5 separate regions of the Homo sapiens genome follow, and regions 1, 2, 3 and 4 are each linked to region 5. The links are contacts of gene promoters, found by promoter capture Hi-C in blood cells and fetal thymus (Javierre and others, 2016). All regions are on one chromosome and are shown on one strand. The core of a region is centred on a gene start or on the middle of the fragment in contact, and the rest is flanking DNA. Distances in the headings are between cores, read along the strand shown.

Region 1 (2,700 bases), core at 2-2,501, 280 kb before region 5:
ACAAACACATCTGCCCCACGACTTGAGCAAGTTCTTCTCTAGCCAAACTCAAGCCTGGCCGATTTTACTCTGAAGGCCAGTGTGGACTCAGCCAGCTGAAGGGAGTCCTCTCCTGCCAAGGCCCATGGCCCTCAGGAACCCTGGCTCCCTCACTGTGAGCCAAGTGGATGCCCAAAGCTCCACCCCTGGAGCTTCTGATTCCTGTGAGCTGGGGCGAGGCCTGGGCTTTGGCAGGGTTCAGAAACTTTCCAGGGGATTCTGAGAACGGACAGTGTGCAAAGTGCCCAACAATAGCTCTACCGGCTGCTGCTTAGGTCAATTTGCTGTAAGTTTTCATTTTGGTACAATGTTAATCTTACAGAAAACTTTCAAGAACTGTACAAAAGAACTCTTGTATTCCCTTTACACCAATCCACCAATGGTTCTCATCTTAACCATTTGCTTAATAATTTTCTTGTGTTTATTTTTATCTAAAAAAAAACATGAAGTAAGCTTTCCTAGTGGGTATGATACAGACTGATAGCAGGACATATATAATATATATTATATAACAAATGCATACATATATTGGGAGACATCCATATATTTGGTGCCCAGCGAATGCACATTGACAGAGATGTGCCACCATAACCTTTGGTGGCAAATTTCATGATCATTTGGAGATGGAGATAAAGGAGGATTGACTGGGACGAGGGACAGAAAAGAAGTTTTGGGGGTGATGAAAACATTCTATATCCCGATTGCGGTTGTGGTTACACAAATGCATACATTTACCAAAACTAATTTGTCTGAATGTACAATTACAATAGGTACATATTATTACATATGATTGCATATAATTTATAATTTGATAAAGTTGATTTTTTAAAAATGTAACTTTTTTTGAAGTGTAGTGGCTTGTTCTAAAGAATCCAGCAGAGGAAAACTGATGCCTGAGGAAGTATGGATTTTATGCCCTGAATTATCATACATTTGTATGGCATTTATTATATGTCAGGCTCTGTTCTAAGCATTTTGCAAGAACGAACTCATGTAATTCTCACAAGCCTATGGTGTAAAGGCATCACAGGCCCCACTTTAGAGATCAGGAAGAGAGGTTAGCTATTGGCCCAAGGTGGCACAGCCAGGAAGTAGAACAACATGACTCTAAACCCTAGCAGGGAGGCACCAGTGCCCCTGCTCTCAGGCACTATGCTAAGTTAGTTCTTTCCATGATAGCCAGAGACCAGGCTCTGCCTTACCGTGCACCACTGCCCCATGGCAGAAGAGCCCCCTGAACTCCAGGGACCAGCCAGTGGACAGAGGGAAGCTGACTGTCCTTGAGGCCTCGCTGTTGAGTACCCAGACCACCAGACTCTCCTCTGCTTCCTGCTTCCCTCCATCCTTGACTCACCAGCTCTGCCAGTCCATCTCTGGAGCTTTCCAACTGCCCAATTTTAGGAGGCATCCAGAGGTGCCATATAGCCTCGCACTGGAAACAGAGTTGGTTGTCTGAACCACTCTGTCTGTCCCTGAGAGATATTAACAGAAAATAAATATCAGCATGTGACATCCTGAAGTTCTGTGTTCCCGGGAGCCAGTACTGGTTTCCTCATATTCCATGTGCTTCCTGTAAGTCAGGGGTCTGTGGCGGGAGAGCACGGAACCAGATCTCAGGCATGGACTTTGCTACTGATTTGCTGTGAGATGTAGGGCTTCTCTTCCCTTCTCTGAGTCTCAGATTTCTCACCCCAAATAATGGGAGGTTAGCCCAGATGTGAGGTTCTTGGCCTGTGGATTGCTAGGAAGTCCACAAATAGGCTTCAAATGTTCTAGGAATCCCCAGCATTTGTATGCATAGTGTTTTGTGTATTTAGATAAAGGAGTCCATATCTCATTTGATTTTCAAAGGGATCACTTTCCCTCTAAAATTTCACATCACTTGCCTGCCAAAGTCTTTTCTAGTTCTAAAATTTGAAGACTTTATGTCTTAATCTAAGTCTTTGCATTGCATATCAGCCTGGAAGCTTCATTTACAGAGAATGGCAAAGGAGACCCAAGGCATCAGTGTTAGAGTCAGAGCTAGCACGTGGTGTCTCCTGACTTATTCATTTATTCAGCATATATCCATTGTAATAAGCATATTTCATTCGAATGATAACTTTTGACCATAGTCCCACATGTGCCAAGAGCCTCTACAATGACCCAGGGCCTAACACAGGACCTAGTGCATAGTAGGAACTCTATAAATATTTGATGAATAAAATAATAATTAGGGTGAGGGCCTTAGGCCTGTAATCCTACCATTTTGGGAGGCTGAGGTGGGCAGATCACTTGAGCCTGGGAGTTTGAGACCAGACTGGCCAACATGGTGAAGCTCCCTCTCTACAAAAAGTCCAAAAAAAAAAAAATAGCTGGGCATGGTGGTGCATGCCTGTAGTCCCAGCTACTCAGGAGGCTGAGATGGGAGGATCACCTGAGCCCAGGCAGGTCAAGGCTGCAGTGAGCTGTGATCACGCCACTGCACTCCAGCAAAGGTGACAGAGCAAGACCATGTCTCAAATAATAAAAATGATGAATTGGGAAGCCAACTAATTGTGGGAGTGGAAATAGAGGAGGAAAGGCAGAACCCCAAATCAGGAGATCCAACTTTTATTTTCATCTTGGCTACACACAAAGCCTCTTCTCCTCTGGCCTCTCTTTTTCCACCATAAACTGAGG
Region 2 (2,700 bases), core at 150-2,649, 290 kb before region 5:
GTGTTCCAGCCTTGCATTCCACCAGCTTAGGAACCTGCAGGAATACAGCTCTGTCCCAATAGCGCCAGCACAATTCTAGATAAGGCCTCCTATTGGCTTGGATCAAGTCACATGCCTATTCTTGATCCAATTACAGTGCCCAAGAGAATGCAGAGCTCTGACTGGCTAAGCCTAGGTCACATGCCCACTGAAATTCCATGGACTAAGCTTAGAGGAGGGATGGTTCCCCAAATTAAAATCAGGATCCTATGTCTAGAAAAAAATATGCTGCTGGGCGCAGTGGTTCACGCCTGTAATCCCAGCACTTTGGGAAGCTGAGGCGGGTGGATCACCTAAGGTCATGAGTTCGACACCACCCTGGCCAATATGATGAAACCCCTTCTCTACTAAAAATACAAAAAATTAGCCTGGCGTGGTGGTGGGTGCCGTAATCCCAGCTACTCAGGAGGCTGAGGCAGGAGAATTGCTTGAAACCGGGAGGCAGAGGTTGCAATGAGGTGAGATTGTGCTTTGCACTCCAGCCTGGGCAACAAGAGTGAAACTCTGTCTCAAAAAAAAGGAAAAAATATGCTGGGTGAACAAAAGCAACAAGACTTCACAGCCAAACCATAGCTTATCACCTGTATTCTCCAAGCTTTCCCAGGGCATCAGCTTGCTAACTTGACACCTAAAATGACTGAGTGTCACTGTGCACGAGTGCATTAATATGCTACCACTTACTCATCACCTATATATACCCCAGATCTTTGATAAAAGGCCCAATGTTATACCTTCTACTAGTGGCCAATGGTGAAAAGTCACAGCCCCCAAAGCAGAATGAGGGTGGGAGGTTTTTGAGAAAGAACAGCCTTTGAGATGTCTCTCAAAAACCATGCCCCATCAGCAGCTCTTCCTCTGATTCTCAAATAGGACCCTAGCTAAGGCCACACTCTACTTATCCTTAACATTATTTTAATTGCATCATTTAAAGGCAAACACAGCTGTTTGTACAATAAAGACTGAGGTTTTTCATCACAGGGTGTTTGTGTATTTGTGTGCCTGCCTGAGTCTTATTTCAAGCACAAACAGCCCAGCTTGGATTGTTAAAAGACATCCTTTACAGTTTACAAATATACCCCCTCTGTCTTCCACCTACCTCCACCCACCCTTGAGATTTTGAAAGCATTCTGCAAGGATTAAAGAACTGCCACCGCTCTTTCAAACACTCCCTAGAACAGAGTTAAACTCTGTGCTGTGTTTAAAGAAAACCTATAGGTTAGATAACTAAGCCATTCGGCTCACACCAATTGTCCCAATTGCCACAACATTGGCAATGTCCTGCCAAGGAATGACTCAACGTTGTCAAGAATTCAGGGGCAGCTAAAAAAATTAAGAGAGGTCTACCCGCCAACCAAGGATGATTCACCCAATCTGGAAAAGAACATACTGGCAATAAAAGTCAATGGGCTAAAGGCACAGTGTTTGTGAAGCCATACTCTCCCCACCACCACTGAATCTGAATACCTTGATACTTTCTACAACCAGGGTACCAGATGAGTCCTGAGACCACCATGAGTCTGTGCCTACACCTGGGCTCTCCTTTTGTGTGAGGATAATGTGAAAGAGCCACCTTCCTCAGGCAGCTTCATAGAATAGAAAACTCTCAGGTTTGGGGATCAGACAGATCTGGGTTGAAGTCTTGGCTCTACCACTTATTTAATCTGTGACTGTGGGCAAGCCTTAGTCTCCACATCTGTAAAATAGGAATGATATCAACCTTCCAGTTGGCTGTGATGACTTCATAATGTTGACTGTGTACTCACGTAGCATCAGACCCTGGGGGCATAGCAGGGGACCAGATACACAGTCCCCATCATCATACAGCTCTAATTATTTAAGTTGTATAACCGTGTATGCAAAGCAATCATCCCCCATGAAAATGATAGTTATCAGTTATGATGGAGACCTAGAGTTAAGGAATTCCAAAGCCTTACAGCTCTTCGGGCAGGGGGAATGACTGGAGGTGAGGAATCATAGGAGAAGGCCCAGAGGACCTGGGGAAGTAGGCAGAGCTGAAGTTCTCCCTCAGGTGAAAAAATTGTTTGTTGATAAACAATTAGTGAGTGCTGACCCTTAAGTAAGGAAAAGTCTTCATCAAGCCTTACTTGGGGTCATCGGAAGCTTCTCAACCTTAAAACCATTCTGAGTGGTAGATTTTTGTCCTCATTTCACTGATGAGGGAGCCCCGGCACAGAGAGGTTAAGTGCTTTGCTTAAGGTCACACAACTTGTAAGTGATGGAGCTGGAATCAGTACTTGAGTCTGTCTAATGCCAAATCCTATGCTATTAATCCTTGCACCATAGCACCTACTTCTATAGCTCCTGGAAAGGGATGTGAATTTCTCAAGCTCTAAAAAAGGGAGCCCTTTTCCTGAGGTCCACATAGCTGCTGGAGACACTGAGCCCAAAGATTACCCTGAACAAGAGCCACTCTTTATTCATTCAACAAATAGCTATCAGGTGCCAGGCACTGTTTGGCTTTGGGAATACAGCACTGACCAGGATAGACGAAAATCCTGCTAATGCTCTCATGGAATGCTACCTTAGTAGGAAAGAGAGACAATAAACACAATAAATAAAAACATATGGTAGGTTAGATAGTGATAAGAGCCGGGGCAAATATACACAGGGAAGGAGGCGTGTATATTTCGTTGGACAGAA
Region 3 (2,700 bases), core at 125-2,624, 260 kb before region 5:
TGTGTGGCCCTCTATAAAAGAACACATTCAAATCATTCTAAGAGTCAAGGGCCCAGAAGCCAGACTAGTGGGTGATGGTCACAAAAGCGTCAACGGATGGGAAAACAGTCCTAGCTCCTTCCCTCTCCGATGGTGGATTCCCAAGTCTTTCTCTTCTGTGGCCCCTTTACCTGGCTTTCAGAAACCCAAAGACCTCACTCATGGAAGCTCAGAATTCATTCAATAAACACTGAGCGCCTACTATGTGCCAGGCTCTATTCTAGGCGTAAAATAAAGGATTTGCCTTCAGAGTGTGACCCACCAAGGCCAGTTTCCTGCCTGAACAGGGGTATTTTGAGCATTGCTGATCAAGTGTGTTTTTCTGGCGCTTAGCACCCCCATTCCCCTGGTCCAGAGAGGCAGAAACCATCCCCCCACCACCACCAAGGCAGCGGGTTGGGGGCGAGGAGAGGCGGGCAGTACCTGTGATCAAAGCGGTGAGGGAGGCTAGTAGGACGCAGGCGGCAGGAGCGGGTGGGCCAGGCCCGACTCGGCCACTGCTGGGGTAGGGACTAGGTGGGATGGGGTGGGGGCACTGCTGGTGGGGACGGGGTGGGGTAGAAGCGGCGCTGCCCGCAGCCGCCTGGGCCTCTGCGCGCCTGATCTCCGAGCTGCGCTCGCCCGCTCCCCGCCTGCGGGGGCCGTCGCGGAGCCCTGCTCTCCATACTGAGCAGTCCCCGGGAGGTGCTCGGACACGTCCCCAGGCTGGATAAAGATCGGCTCGGCTCTAGCTCCGTAGTCGAAATCTCGCCATCAGCGCGGCTCGCTCGGCCGCTTTGGCCCGGCCCGGCGACGCCAGATCGCTATCCTGGGGGGAAATGGGAAGGCAGTGCAGCCGCTCCCGCCTCCACCCTCGGTCCTGCGCGCAGGGGTGGCCGCGGGGTCCTGGGGCTCGCCGCCCTCCCCTCCCCCTTCGCGTTCCTTCCCTGCGCTGCCTCCCGAGGGACCCTCGCTTCCCTCCGGCCTGGGGCCCCCAGCGCCCAGCCAGGCGCCCTCTCCCCTCCTCGCCAGGCCTCGCTGCCGCCTGAAGGTTACGCGACGCAGTGGCGGGGCGCGGGGGGCGCCCGCCCTCGCCGCCGCCTTCGCCGCCGCCCACCCCAGTGGCCGCCGCGCCGCGCCGGGCCAGCCTGGCTGCCGGCTGCTGCCACCGCAATCCCGGCTCCTAAATCAGCGCGGGGAGGCGCTCCCTCCCCACGCCCGGCTCTCCGGGCTCTCGGGGCCGCGATTGGCCGCGCCGGCGCCCCCCACCCCGGGCCCCCGGCTCCAGCTGCCGCGCCATTGGCTGCGGGCCTCCGCCAGCCTTTACATAAGACCGGGCGCGCTCGAGTGGAGTTGTATAAAGCGAGCGCGCGGCGTCGGGGCGGGAGGCTCGAGGCCAGCCCGGGACCGGGGCTGGGAGCAAGCAGGCGGCGGCGCCGGCGGCAGAGGCGGCAGCGAGCGCCCGCTTCCCACGCCCCTAGGCGGCGGGGCCGAGAGCGGGAGGATGGCTCCGAGCGCTGACCCCGGCGTGAGTATCTGCACCGGTGCCCCCCACCCTAAGGCGGAGAAAGTTTCTCCAGCTCTGCGCGCCCCCCCGGATCCGCCCGCAAGGGTGGCGGGGACGCCGCCCGGGAACCCGGGAAGACTGGGATCGCGAAGGCGGCGGCTTCGCTCCTAACTTGCTGGGAGGCGCTGGACTCGATTGGCGCGCGGAGCCTCCCCCGCGGGCTGGGGGTGAGGCGGCGGCCGGGTTGGAGGTGGCGGAGAGGTGGGAGCTGATGTGTGGGGGCGACAGCCAGCAGCTGGCAGAGAAAGTGTTGGGGGCGCACTGGAGGTCAGCTGTCAGGGGAGGGGGCCTCTGGGGCCTGGAGGGGGCGGAGCGGGTGAGGAGGGATGTGCCGGGCTATCGGGAGAGTCTCCCAGTCAGCCAGGCTGAGACCCGGGCCTGGGAAGCCACTGGCCTCGGCCGAGTGCCTACGCTTCCAGGCTGGGGAAGAGCCCCGCGGGCTGGCTCTTCCTCCCCTGGGAAGCCGAGTTCCCGGGCACAGCGCTGGGTGGCAGAGAGCTCCGGGAGCCAGCCCCGCGCGCGGCGTAGCTGCTAGCCGCCTTATGCTGGACGAGGTGTGGTCTTCCCTTCAGGCTGCCTGAGGCAAGCCGGCTTCAGGCATTCCAGGGGAACCCTGAGTCCTCCTCGACCCCGTGGGGGCACTTGGAGGCTTTGATGGGGCAGCCAGGCCGGGCTTGGGGGCATGCCCAGCAATGCAGCGCGCTTCTTTGCAGTACAGTAGTTGGGAGCCCTGGTTAGTCCCGCTTCTGCAGAAAGCAACTCAAGAATCCAAAGTCATCCCAGCCTGGATGGAAGCCTCCCAGAGTGGCGGGGAAATTCTCCTAGGGTTGAGAGCTGGGGGGGCTTCCTCCAGGAATGACTAATGAATATTGCTGCTGCTGCCGCCGCCGCCGCCGCCGCCGCCGCCGCCGCCGCCGCTGCTGCTGCTGGTGGGTGCACCCAGTGTGGCTTCTGCACATCCCAGGAGATGCTTCCGTTCTCCTGACAGGACACATTCTTGAGTTGCACTTGAGGTGTCTTCTGGGATGGGTGCAGGACTTTCCACGTGAAGCCAAGTGGAAAAGAAGGGAAGAGGGTCCCAGGACAGGGGACAGTTCTATAGTGTTTTCTTGAGT
Region 4 (2,700 bases), core at 96-2,595, 330 kb before region 5:
AAATTTGAAGGGCAGGGTTTTTTAAGGACACTTTGGAGGGCAGGGGGCTAGGGAATGGGGCCTACTGATTGGTTGGGTCACAGATGAAAGCACAGGGATTCATAGCTTGTCTTCTTGCACTGAGTCACAGTTCCTGGGTAGGAGCCACAAGACCAGCTCAGCCAGTTTATCCATTTGGGTGGTGTCAGCTGGTTCATCGAGTGCAAGATGTGAAAAATATCTTGAACACCAATCTTAGATTTTACAATAGTGATGTCCTCTATAGGAGCAACTGGGGAGTTAAGGATCTTGTGGCCTCTAGCTGTATGACTTCTGAGCCATAATTTCTAATCTTGTGGCTAATTTGTTAGTTTTACAAAAGAGGTCTGATCCCCAAGGAAGGAGGGGGTTTGTTTCAGGAAAGGGCTGTTATTATCTTTGTTTCAAAGTTAAATTATGAACTTAATCCTTCCATAGTTAGCCTGGCCTAAGCCCAGGAATGAACAAGTGCGGCTTGGAGGTTAGAAACAAGACAGAGTCAGTTAGGTCTGATTTTTCTCACTGTCATAACTTTTGCAAAGGCAGTTTCACCAAACAGGTGAGAATGAGATAAAGTGATGCTCCTTCCAGTGCATACACTATAAATGGAACCCTGTGGAACTCATTTCTTGAAGCCAAAGACCATGGTTAGTGGAGGGAACTTCAGGAAATGTGGTCCATGCAGTGAGAGGTCCCTGAGCCCTCACTGGACTGGAAGATCTGTGAGAGGAAGGCCAAGCTTGACTTTGTCACTGCTTTACCCCAAACCTTGGCACTGGGTCTGGGCCTTAGGAGATACTCAGCATGGTTTTATTTTTCCAGTAACAGTGAATGAGGAAATTAATGGGTAAATAAAACTGGGCCCTTTAAATAACACAAAGCAGACGGCTTTGGGCATCTTGTGGGAAATAGCATGTTATATTCTATGTGTGCACCAAACAAGTTGGTTTTGTCTTTTGGCACCCCTTCATTTGGAAGAACTACGTCTCCCTCATTCCTTGTAGTCTGAGAGGCTTTAAACTACTGTGTCTTTCCCCACTGGCCACAGGAGTGGGCATGTGACCCAGGCTGAGCCAGCCATAGTACTACATCTTTTGTACCTATGTCTAGTTCAGATGTGGGCAGAGAACCCAAGCAGGGTCGGTGAGAATTCTTCCATGAGATTTGCACATGGACACAAAGAGAGAAAGGGCTTCTCTCCTTTGACTCACAAGCCCCCAGCCATCCTTCCCGCCAGCTGGAGATATTTTGCCTGAGAATAAAGCCATAGAGGCAGGGCCCACCCGGAGCTGGCCTGTCTTCAGTATTTTAACCCCTGGACACCACTTTGCTGAAAGGCAGATCTACCCTAGAACTTCCCAATTAGGAAAGTCAATAAATTATTTTCTCCCCCTCAAGTTTGTTTGAATTGGGTGTATGGCCCTTGCAACAAGGAATCCTGTTCATTTCAGTTTGAATGTTTTCCATACGTGTTTCATCTTATGACATCGACTATTTTTGAGAGTACACAAAAAATGTATTCTGCACATCTTTGTATGCAATGCACCAAGACACAGCATAAAAATCTGGAGAGAAAGAATTTAAAAAGCCAGTTTGTCCTTAAGGGACATTCTAATGGAGGTGAAGAGTTGGGGGAAGGGAAGAATTCCATTTAATGAGTATTTTAAAATGATCTGCTATGCGCCAGATGTTTTCACAAGTAATTGCAATTAATCATCACCAATCTTGTAAAGAAGATATTGTTATGGCCACTTTATAGATAAAACTATGGTTCAGAAGGGTTAAATAACATGCCTAAGACAGCCCAGCTATTAAGAGCTAAAACAAGACTTCAGATTCAGATGTCTAACTTCAAGGTCAGTGTCCTTACTACTGCACAATCCTGCCTCCTGGACAGGAGATAAGACAAGCTTAAGAATATGATAAGGAAAAAAAAAAAAGAAAGGAATTCATACACGAATCTGTTCAGAAAATACTTAGTGTCTGAATAAGTTTTTCACAAACGTTAGTGAGTAACATTTCACTTATTCAGGCCCTTATTTCACTTATTTTCACAAACATTATTCATTAATGTTTGTGAAAATACTTCTTAAACTAGTTATACATCACATAAATGTAAAACATTGTCAACATGTGCAAGGCATCATGCTAGGCACTGCAGAAGAAGGGACATAAAGATGAATAAAATAGCCTTTTTCCCCAGGGGCATACAATAGAGTAGACCTAGAAATATTACATGGCAAAGTATGATTAATGGCATAGGAGAAGTTCAAAGTGCTGGGAGAGTTCTGAGCAGGAAATGTTTACATCTGATTGAGGGAGCCGGAAAGACTTCATGGAAAAAATCTATTAGGTAAGTGCGAATAAATGTATTGATAATGGTGTGCTTACTAAGGTGCCTGTAGGAATTTGGAAGGAGTGAAAAAGAAAAATGAAAAAGAAAAGAAGGGAGGGAAAGTAGGGAGGGAGAGAAGAAGAGAGAGAGAGAGAGACAGTGAGGTAGAGGGAGAGAGGAGGAAAGGAAGGAGGGAAGGAAGGAAGGAAGGAAAAGAGAGAAAAAGAAAGAGAAAAAGAAAGAAAGAAAAGGAAAGAAGGAGGGAGGGAACAGGAAGGGGAGAAGAGGGGAGGATAGGGAAGAAAGAAAAGAAGGGAAATGAGAGAAGAAAGGGAGAGTGGAAGGGA
Region 5 (2,700 bases), core at 39-2,538:
TAGGCTCTCAGGAAGGAATTCCCCTCCCTTCAAGCCTCCAGTCCAAATTCCTCTCAAGGGAGAGCCAATGAAAGGCAGGACTCAGACAGGAGAGAAAGACACCAAGCATGGGGCTCCTGAAGGTCCCCTCCCCTCTGATGCTTGCCTGGGTGCCCTGCTCAGACACACCATCAATTCCCCCTCTTCCCACTGTGTTCCCTACCATGGGTTGGAAGTTATCTTACCACAGAGTGGTTAAGCCCTGGCCTTTGTAGCCCAACATCTGGATTCAAATCCTAGCTCCTTCACATATGAGCTGTGTGGCCAAGGGCCAGTTACTCCACTTCTCTGAACTCCCTATCCCCTTGGTCATTAGGCCTACAGACTCAGAATCCAGGCCTCCTGGTTGTTTCTGGGCTCTGACTCTCGAAAAAGACTATCTGGGTTCAAATCCCAGCTCTAATCTGTGCTTAACCTCTCTGCCGCAGGATCTTTATCTGTAAGGTGGGGACAATAATAGTACCTACCCACCATCTAGCCTTATTGTGAGAATTAGCTGAGGGAGTTTATGCAATGTGCTCAGATCAGACTTGGCACACAATTAGCACCCACTAAGTATTGGCTATCATTAGCAATAGCTGATAAGCTTGGAACGTACCTTGCACCGCACCTTGCACCGCACCTTGCACCTTGCACCGTCCCTGGCAGGTAGTAAGAGCTCACTAAATAGAAGCTATGATTACCTTCACCCCCACTAGACTATCCTGGCCCTGGAGGTGGGTTCTGGGTCATATCCATCTTTGATTCCCCAGCAGCCAGCATGGGGCCTGGCACCAAGCTCAATGAAGACCTGCCAGGAGGACCAGAAGATCCAGGGTGTGGGGTGGCACGAGCCTCCCACCAGGGAGAAGAGGAACCGAGGTGTCGGGGAAGAGAAAACAGAGCAGAGGGAGAAAAGCCAAGGCAGAGAGATAAGCAAGTGAAGTGAGTGAGAAAAGGAACAGGAGAGGCTGTGGCGGAGAGAGATAAGGAGGAAGGATGGAGAAGGCGAGGGTCGAGGAAAATGCCCAGGGAGGCAGGGAGCCCTGGGGAGAAACGCTGGGCGAGGCCAGGGCTGCGGCAGGGGAGCCGAGCCGGGAGAGGGGCGCAAGACCTGGCGCTGGGCGGGACGCTCGGGCAGGGTGCGGGAGGGGCTGAGGGCCGCCCCCACTGCCTCCCCGCCTTGGAGCTGGGGCCAGGCGGCCGGAGATTGGCTGGGGCGCACGGCGAGGCCCGGGCTGGAGCCCCGAGGTGGGAGGCGCCAGGATCAGTCGGGGCGCCCGCAGCGCAGGCTGCCACCCACCTGGGCGACCTCCGCGGCGGCGGCGGCGGCGGCTGGGTAGAGTCAGGGCCGGGGGCGCACGCCGGAACACCTGGGCCGCCGGGCACCGAGCGTCGGGGGGCTGCGCGGCGCGCACCTGGAGAGGGCGCAGCCATGCGGGCGGCGGCGGCGGGGGGGGGCGTGCGGACGGCCGCGCTGGCGCTGCTGCTGGGGGCGCTGCACTGGGCGCCGGCGCGCTGCGAGGAGTACGACTACTATGGCTGGCAGGCCGAGCCGCTGCACGGCCGCTCCTACTCCAAGCCGCCGCAGTGCCTTGACATCCCTGCCGACCTGCCGCTCTGCCACACGGTGGGCTACAAGCGCATGCGGCTGCCCAACCTGCTGGAGCACGAGAGCCTGGCCGAAGTGAAGCAGCAGGCGAGCAGCTGGCTGCCGCTGCTGGCCAAGCGCTGCCACTCGGATACGCAGGTCTTCCTGTGCTCGCTCTTTGCGCCCGTCTGTCTCGACCGGCCCATCTACCCGTGCCGCTCGCTGTGCGAGGCCGTGCGCGCCGGCTGCGCGCCGCTCATGGAGGCCTACGGCTTCCCCTGGCCTGAGATGCTGCACTGCCACAAGTTCCCCCTGGACAACGACCTCTGCATCGCCGTGCAGTTCGGGCACCTGCCCGCCACCGCGCCTCCAGGTAGCGCCGCCGCCGCCGTCCCCGCGCGCTCCGACGGCCCTGCAGCTCCCCTAGCACAGCTCTGCGAACCCCCCAAGAGGTGCAGCTCCCCCCCTCCGCCCACACACACACACACACGCTGTCCTAGCTCAGCCCAGCGTCCCCGGAATTATCCCCCGCAGCCTTCCCGCCTTCCCACCTCCCCAGGGAGTGGCAGCATAGTGCCTCCCGGCGGCTCCAGACCTTCCCTCTGGCTCTCGTTCCCTGGAAACCCCTGGCACCCCTCTCAGTACCCATCCAACCAAGCTGCTGAGAATCCCCCAATGCCGTCCCCCCAATCCTGGGACGTCCTGATAAATGCCTTATGACCCCTCTCAGCCCAAGAATGCCTGGGGTCGTTAAACAATGCCTTTCACCTGGATCCCGAGGCACCAAAGCAAGCATCATCCCCACTCCGTGTTGGGACCTTGGGAAGAGAGGAGAGGTGAGGGAAGGGATGTGGAGAAAGACTGGGGACTAAGAATGTTCTGGACTATGATCTGCGTCCCCGTTTTCTGTACCTGGAACCCTAAGATCTCCACCCTCTTCCCCAGTTCCCCTGGCTGGGAGTCATTCGGGTAAGGCTCAGTGCGGAAGGAAGAGCAGATTAGGCTCTGCCCCTGAAGAGAAGCCCTTAGGCAAGTTGCTTGACTTCACTGAGCCTCAGTTTCCCCATCCATAAAATAGGAAGCCATCCCAG

What was found. The method cuts DNA at HindIII sites, captures the fragments that hold promoters and counts their contacts. A CHiCAGO score of 5 or more calls a contact.
Region 1: a fragment that was not itself captured here is called in contact with the fragment with the promoter of SFRP5 in region 5 in 4 of 17 cell types (M2 macrophages, M1 macrophages, M0 macrophages and 1 more); the score reaches 8.3 in M2 macrophages.
Region 2: a fragment that was not itself captured here is called in contact with the fragment with the promoter of SFRP5 in region 5 in 1 of 17 cell types (M0 macrophages); the score reaches 5.1 in M0 macrophages.
Region 3: the fragment with the promoter of CRTAC1 here is called in contact with the fragment with the promoter of SFRP5 in region 5 in 1 of 17 cell types (M2 macrophages); the score reaches 5.2 in M2 macrophages.
Region 4: a contact is called between a fragment that was not itself captured here and the fragment with the promoter of SFRP5 in region 5, in 2 of 17 cell types (M1 macrophages and M2 macrophages). The highest score is 5.6, in M1 macrophages.

Annotation. Positions count from the first base shown.
Region 1 is chr10:98,047,913-98,050,612 of GRCh38, reverse strand. No RefSeq gene overlaps it. Among named protein-coding and RNA genes, the nearest start is that of CRTAC1, 19 kb to the right of the region's middle. The HindIII fragment of the contact is 1,514 bases long and covers 495-2,008 here.
Region 2 is chr10:98,064,804-98,067,503 of GRCh38, reverse strand. No RefSeq gene overlaps it. Among named protein-coding and RNA genes, the nearest start is that of CRTAC1, 36 kb to the right of the region's middle. The HindIII fragment of the contact is 1,526 bases long and covers 637-2,162 here.
Region 3 is chr10:98,029,295-98,031,994 of GRCh38, reverse strand. It overlaps CRTAC1 (cartilage acidic protein 1), which reads left to right and starts at 1,374. Exons shown (of 15, transcript NM_018058.7): 1 at 1,374-1,546. The coding sequence starts at 1,523. The HindIII fragment of the contact is 20,576 bases long and covers 1-2,700 here.
Region 4 is chr10:98,104,192-98,106,891 of GRCh38, reverse strand. No RefSeq gene overlaps it. Among named protein-coding and RNA genes, the nearest start is that of R3HCC1L, 29 kb to the left of the region's middle. The HindIII fragment of the contact is 1,171 bases long and covers 760-1,930 here.
Region 5 is chr10:97,770,587-97,773,286 of GRCh38, reverse strand. SFRP5 (secreted frizzled related protein 5) reads left to right here and starts at 1,288. Exons shown (of 3, transcript NM_003015.3): 1 at 1,288-1,982. The coding sequence starts at 1,454. The HindIII fragment of the contact is 8,141 bases long and covers 628-2,700 here.